Regions from separate parts of the Homo sapiens genome. Here region 2 is linked to region 1. The links are contacts of gene promoters, found by promoter capture Hi-C in human tissues and cell types (Jung and others, 2019). All regions are on one chromosome and are shown on one strand. Each heading gives the region's core, a stretch centred on a gene start or on the middle of the fragment in contact. The rest is flanking DNA. Distances are from core to core; before and after follow the strand shown. Region 1 holds the start of LIN28B (lin-28 RNA binding posttranscriptional regulator B). Region 2 has its middle 12 kb from the start of HACE1.

Region 1 (3,102 bases), core at 217-2,716:
GTGTGGATGTGTTTGAAGAGACTGGGAGGGGGATTGCTGGCATGGTGGGGGAGGGTCAACTCGGTAGCTTTGTCGAAGGAAGTGGTATCTGAACAGTTAGTTTCTTGGTAAACTGCTTGTTTAAGAAAATGGGGGGTGGGGTAGGCAAGTCTGGTGGTGCATTTTAAGGTTTTAAAATAGCGATATTTTATATTTTAAAGGAAATAAAGTCTTTTTAGTTAATCTATAATATTTATTATAGTATTCGATAAGGGCAGAAATACTGTTGCCAGCATCTTGTAATCAATCGTTTGAACCAGTTTGAAAGGTAAAGGGGGTAGGCATTTTGAAACTGGGGGTCAGTTGAGGAAGGACAGTAGGAGCTTCATCCGTTGTTACATTTTCGTTTATTCAACTCTTCTAGCCATTGGTAGTGGACTTTTAAAATGTCAGGGTACAAGTCAATATGATATGAATTTACCTTTTTTCTCCCACTTGTCCTTCTTTCTCCACCCCACCCCCTGCCCGCGCCGGCTTTTTTTCTCTCCCACCTCTTTCTTTGACTCTGCTGCCGCCTATCCTGGCGGCTCCTCTTCACCTCCCCTGCCTGGCGATCCCCTCCCCCTCCTGCCCTATGTCCTCCAGCTCTTGGGGAACAATCGCCACTGATTGAGGTTCACTCTATGTTAGGCTGGAAAACTGGGCTGTTATTTAGGAAGTCATTAATCACATCTCCTCCCCCGGAAAGAGATGGCAGAGAAACCTGTGAAGTACAATTCCTTACCAACCCCCTCTAAAATTTTCCAAAATGGTTTACCTAAACACAATTTGACTATATGAAGGTGAAAACGATTTTTCTAGTAGGATTTTATTTTAAATTTGAAAAAATTTCGGGCATAATCAGGTAATTTATGTGCCTCTGCCTTTTCCTAGGTGTATGTTTTCATTATCTAAAGTTTCATGGGGATGTAATTAGGTTTAATTAGATCTTTTATAAATTATATATTTTCCTCTAAGAATTGAATTAAATATGAAATTAGCGTTCCAAGCAGGTTTACTGCCATGGAATAGCTGAATTCTTAAGGGGAAAAAAAGCGTTAACATCGGTTGTTTTATTTAAACGACCCCCTCCCATGATTTTAGTCAGGCTTGTGTGTAAGGCACGCGTGTGCACATATATGACTGCCTTTTTTTCTAAATCTATGATTCACAAGGTCCCTCCATTGTGTTTAAGTAGAAGCACGAAATCAGCATTCTGATTTATCCTAAAGAAGCGTTCCAAATTGTCTTTAAGATAACATGTTTGAGTTTTTCGTGTTCATTCATAAATTATTTTGATGTCAGCATAGATGAAATGGCGATTGGTTATCTCTTCCTCTTGCCAGCCCCTTAAGGATACGAGGTGAAATTAGTAGCAAGAAAGCATGTAATTGACAAAGTCACGTGTGCTCAGGGGGCCAGAAACTGGAGAGAGGAGAGAAAAAAATCAAAAGAAGGAAAGCACATTAGACCATGCGAGCTAAATTTGTGATCGCACAAAATCAAGATGTTAGATTGATGCAGAAGATCACTCCGTTCCAAAGGGAAAGTTTTCATCTCACGAGTTTGGAGCTGAGGGCCCGTGGGGCAACATGGCCGAAGGTTAATTTTCTTTTCTATTGTTTTACTGTGAATTTCTTTCTTCTTTTCTCCTCCCCCTCCCCCTCTCCCACCCTTCTTAGACCGTCCCCCCCTTCCCCTTTTACCCCAATACTGGGCATTACCTCCCAACCCCCCATCACGCAGTGGGGCTTTCTGCAAACCTATTGTTATAGATCTCCAAAAATGTTTTGTACCGCCCACACTGATTCACAACTTGAAAAGCTTTCAGGGGGCTATTGTTTGAATTGTGTGAGTGTGATTAAGCGCAGTTTCAGTTAGTGATTCCAAGAAAACTTTTATACACCTGCCCCCTCCCCCATTCCACCCCAACTTTAATTGAAAGTTATGGGGGGGAGGGGAATGCACATTGCAAATAACGCTGGATTCAGTGCTGCCCCATGTGCCTTAACTAGTAGCTCTAAACCATCTTCACGATTTCTCTTTCCTCCTCGTGCCCGCCGGAGAGAATAGTTTCGCTGAAAATTTCTCTTTGTCAATGGGATCAGTATTAAATCAGCAATATACAAGTAAAGTATCGCATGCTGTAATGTAAAATGTGGCTGAAAAATGGAGTTAAATGAATAAGTACACGTATGTATAGAAACGTGGAAGTTGGTGTGATCGATAGAACAGTGTGGCTTCCCCCTCCCCCGCTTTCCTTTTAACCCTTTTCATTTTAAGTATTTTCTGTGGAGAAAAGAAATCAAACCATTAAAAAAAATTTTTTTTTTCTGTTACCCTTCCCCCCCAACCCCAGGCAGGCAATTTTTTTTTTTTAATCTTTGAATGCACATTGAATGGGAATACAGACTGACTTTTTTGTCCTGTTCCTTCTCAGGCGGGGCTAGCAAAGGTGGTGGAGAAGAGCCCGGGAAGCTGCCGGAGCCGGCAGAGGAGGAATCCCAGGTTTTGCGCGGAACTGGCCACTGTAAGTGGTTCAATGTGCGCATGGGATTTGGATTCATCTCCATGATAAACCGAGAGGGAAGCCCCTTGGATATTCCAGTCGATGTATTTGTACACCAAGTAAGCCAAACTTTTTTGTCCCCCTCTTCATCTTTTTCCATGTGGAGGAGCTGATCGGTAGTTATGCCAATAGACGTACGATAAGATGTCCTTCGGTATATTGAAAGACAAAATCTTCCCTGAAATCACTAGGTAGTCCAACGTTTAGGGTACGTGTATGGGCCTTTTCCTGGGTTTTCTGTCTAAAGAGAAAAGAAAATATTTGAAATTTCACTATATATATTAAGGTTGACGTTATTAGCATTTCCCCCTGCTTCATTCTACAGCGAAATAGTGTTCTTGTTGTTTCCGGTATTACCTATACAATATACTTTGTCGCCTGTATCTGGTGAATGGGTAGAAAAATGAAGAAACATGATCATTTTAAGGTTGAAAAAACAAAGCGAAACAGTTTGCTGTGGAAAGAAATGTATAGATTGCCTTATTTTAGACACCTCTAGTCACAGTAGCTCCCTT
Region 2 (3,102 bases), core at 346-2,845, 86 kb before region 1:
GGCATTAGGATATCAATAGATAGACAACATACAAAATGCAACTCATACTGAGAAATTAAACATTTTAAACCATTAAAACATTTGTAGAAGTCTGTGACTTTCATAATAAATGAGACAAAATCAGTAATTAGTCCTATGAAAGTGTTTTCTGAATTTTGTAGTAAGTTCAATGACCTTAGTAATCACTTCAGGGAGCAGCGTGAAAGATCATGTTTCCTACATAAAAAGTAATAGTGTCAAGAAAAACAGTATGGGCCAGGCAAGGTGGCTCATGCCTGTAATCCCAGCACTTTGGGAGGCCATAGCAGGTGGATCACTTGAGGTCAGGAGTTTGAGACCAGCCTGGCCAACATGGTGAAACCCCGTCTCTGCTAAAAATACAAAAATTAGCCAGGTGTGGTGGCATGCACCTGTGATCCCAGCTCCTCAGGAGGCTGAGGCAGGAGAATCGCTTGAACCCAGGAGGCAGAGATTGCAGTGATCTGAGATTGTGCCATTGCACTCCAGCCTGGGGAACAGAGGGAGACTCAGTCTGAAAAAAAAAAAAAAAGAAAGAAAGAAAGAAAAATAGTATCATTTAGCTTGTGTATTTAAAATTATTTTAATTTGTATTGAGTTTATTTTTCATTTCAGTGAAATGCTGCCTTCTTTAAACATTCCGTTTTAATTAGATAAAGGGTGTCAGTGACTTCATTCCATCATCAGTAACTTAGTTTCAAATTCAATACATACATGTATGTTCAAAATGCAAGGTAGAAGTACACTGAAGAATAAAAACCTGCACATGCACCCCCAGAATAGACATTTTTTTCTTATGCTCAAGAAGTTCAACTTCCAAAAAGAGAGTTAAGACATGTACAAATCTGACAGTAATACACAGCAAACTGTGGAGAGTCCTTCAAGTTGTACCAAAAACCCTGAGGAGGTGAGAAAGAGAATCATCACTTCAGTGTAGTAAGGGAGTAGAATCAGGGAGATTTCATGCCTGAAAGACGTCATATTTACACATGGGGAATAGAAACAAGCAGGACAATCTGATTAACAACAAATAATAACAGCTGATACTTGTTGAGCATTAATAGCTGATTTAGCTGAGGCTCATGGGTAATTGGGGAATTAAGGCTAACATATGAGTCAGATTTCAGTTAGCCTTGAATGACATGCTTAGCAGCTTGAAGCCAGTTCTATAAGCAGTGAGGAGCAACATAATTAGGTGGCAGTGGGAAAGAGTGGCAACAGCTGGATGAGTTAAGAGGCTATTGAAATTATATAAGTGAGTGGATACAAGACACTGTATTAAGGTGAGGGTGAAAAAGAAAGATGTATGTGAGCATACTGTAGATGGGCAGGATGCAGAATCTGGAATCTAGATGACCAATGGGATAAATGGGTTAGAGTGATTTGGGATGACTCCAAAGTCAGTAACAGGAGTAGAGTAGTTCTTTTGAGGGAGAAAGATTAGTTCAAAAGTTGTTAAGGCCCTTTTTAACAGATTTTTATGGAGAAAAACAATTATTTTAACTTGAAGTCATCCATTTCTCATAAAGCTAGGTTATAGGCATTGAAATTAGTATTATGTATGTTTGGTTCTGTCTTTCCTCCACTTTGGTGCAGTAGACTTATTCATGAACACGTGTTACTGTGTATTTCAGTATTTCACTATTTATGTGAACATGTTATGTTTCTTTTTTTTTTTTTTTTTTTTTTTTTTTTTTAAGACAGAGTATTGCTCTGTTGCCCAGGCTGGAGTGCAGTGGCGCGATCTCGGCTCACTGCAAGCTCCGCCTCCCAGGTTCACGCCATTCTCCTGCCTAAGCCTCCCGAGTAGCTGGAACTGCAAGTGCCCACCACCACGCCCTGTCATTTTTTTGTATTTTTAGTAGAGACGTGGTTTCACTGTGTTAGCGAGGATGGTCTCGATCTCCTGACCTCGTGATTCGCCCGCCTCGGCCTCCCAAAGTGCTGGGATTACAGGCATGAGCCACCGCACCCAGCCAACATGCTATGTTTCTAACTCCAAATCATTAGGTAGCAGAATTATGAGGAGCCTTGTCAAGCCTGATCTGAAGCATGGGATGGTTCTATACCAGATTCATTTAACAAATGCACCTGTCATCTGAGTACTGGTTTTCCACATCTATTAGTATGGAATTAATTTACATAAAATCATCACTTTGAATTGCCTATGAAGAATTGATTTGTTCACTTTTTCTTCAAGACAAATAGTGCAGTGAAAAAGTAAAAGGTCTAACTGCCCAGGGTACAGTGGTTTAGGAGAGCGGGGACATGGACAGTCTAGTGCTGACCTTGACACCAAAAAACTGTGTTTCACTTATACTGTCTAGTTTTAAGTTTCCTCCTCTGCAAACTGAGATTTATTAAACAGTATTTCTTCAGCTTTAACTGACAGAAACGCAATTTCAGCTAGCTTATGTTAAATAAGAATTTATTAATACAGTAAGATGGCTCACGAATGCCAAGGGCAGGGGGCACCTTCAGAACTCTCTGGTCTCTGTCAGAGTTATCTTCCTATAGAACCACTTGAAGCATTTCATTTCCCACCTCAGAATCTCTGCAGCTGTCCCTTTTTCTCCAACATTTAAAAATCTAAACTCCTGGCCAGAACTTCCAACACTATGTTGAACAGGAGTGGTGAGAGAGGGCACCCCTGTCTTGTGCCAGTTTTCAAATGGAATGCTTGCAGTTTTTGCCCATTCAGTATGATATTGGCTGTGGGTCTGTCATAAATAGCTATTATTATTTTGAGATACGTCCCATCAATACCTAATTTATTGAGAGTTTTTAGCATGAAGAGCTGTTCAATTTTGTCAAAGGCCTTTTCTGCTTCTATTGAGATAATCATGAGGTTTTTGTCTTTGATTCTGTTTATATGCTGGATTACGTTTATTGATTTGCATATGTTGAACCAGCCTTGCATCCCAGGGATGAAGCCCACTTGATCATGGTGGATAAGCTTTTTGATGTGCTGCTGGATTCGGTTTGCCAGTACTTTATTGAGGATTTTTGCGTCGATGTTCATCAGGGATATTGGTCTAAAATTCTCTTTTTTGTTGTTGTGTCTCTGCCAGGCTTTGGTATCAG

What was found. The method cuts DNA at HindIII sites, captures the fragments that hold promoters and counts their contacts. A contact is called where the count stands out against the background at its distance.
Region 2: a contact is called between a fragment that was not itself captured here and the fragment with the promoter of LIN28B in region 1, in 2 of the 25 tissues and cell types used here (H1 embryonic stem cells and dorsolateral prefrontal cortex).

What each region holds. Positions count from the first base shown.
Region 1 is chr6:104,955,641-104,958,742 of GRCh38, forward strand. It overlaps LIN28B (lin-28 RNA binding posttranscriptional regulator B), which reads left to right and starts at 1,467. Exons shown (of 4, transcript NM_001004317.4): 1 at 1,467-1,620; 2 at 2,459-2,646. The coding sequence starts at 1,611. RefSeq lists enhancers at 480-1,417, 1,418-2,355. The HindIII fragment of the contact is 4,416 bases long and covers 675-3,102 here.
Region 2 is chr6:104,869,913-104,873,014 of GRCh38, forward strand. No RefSeq gene overlaps it. Among named protein-coding and RNA genes, the nearest start is that of HACE1, 12 kb to the left of the region's middle. The HindIII fragment of the contact is 5,361 bases long and covers 1-3,102 here.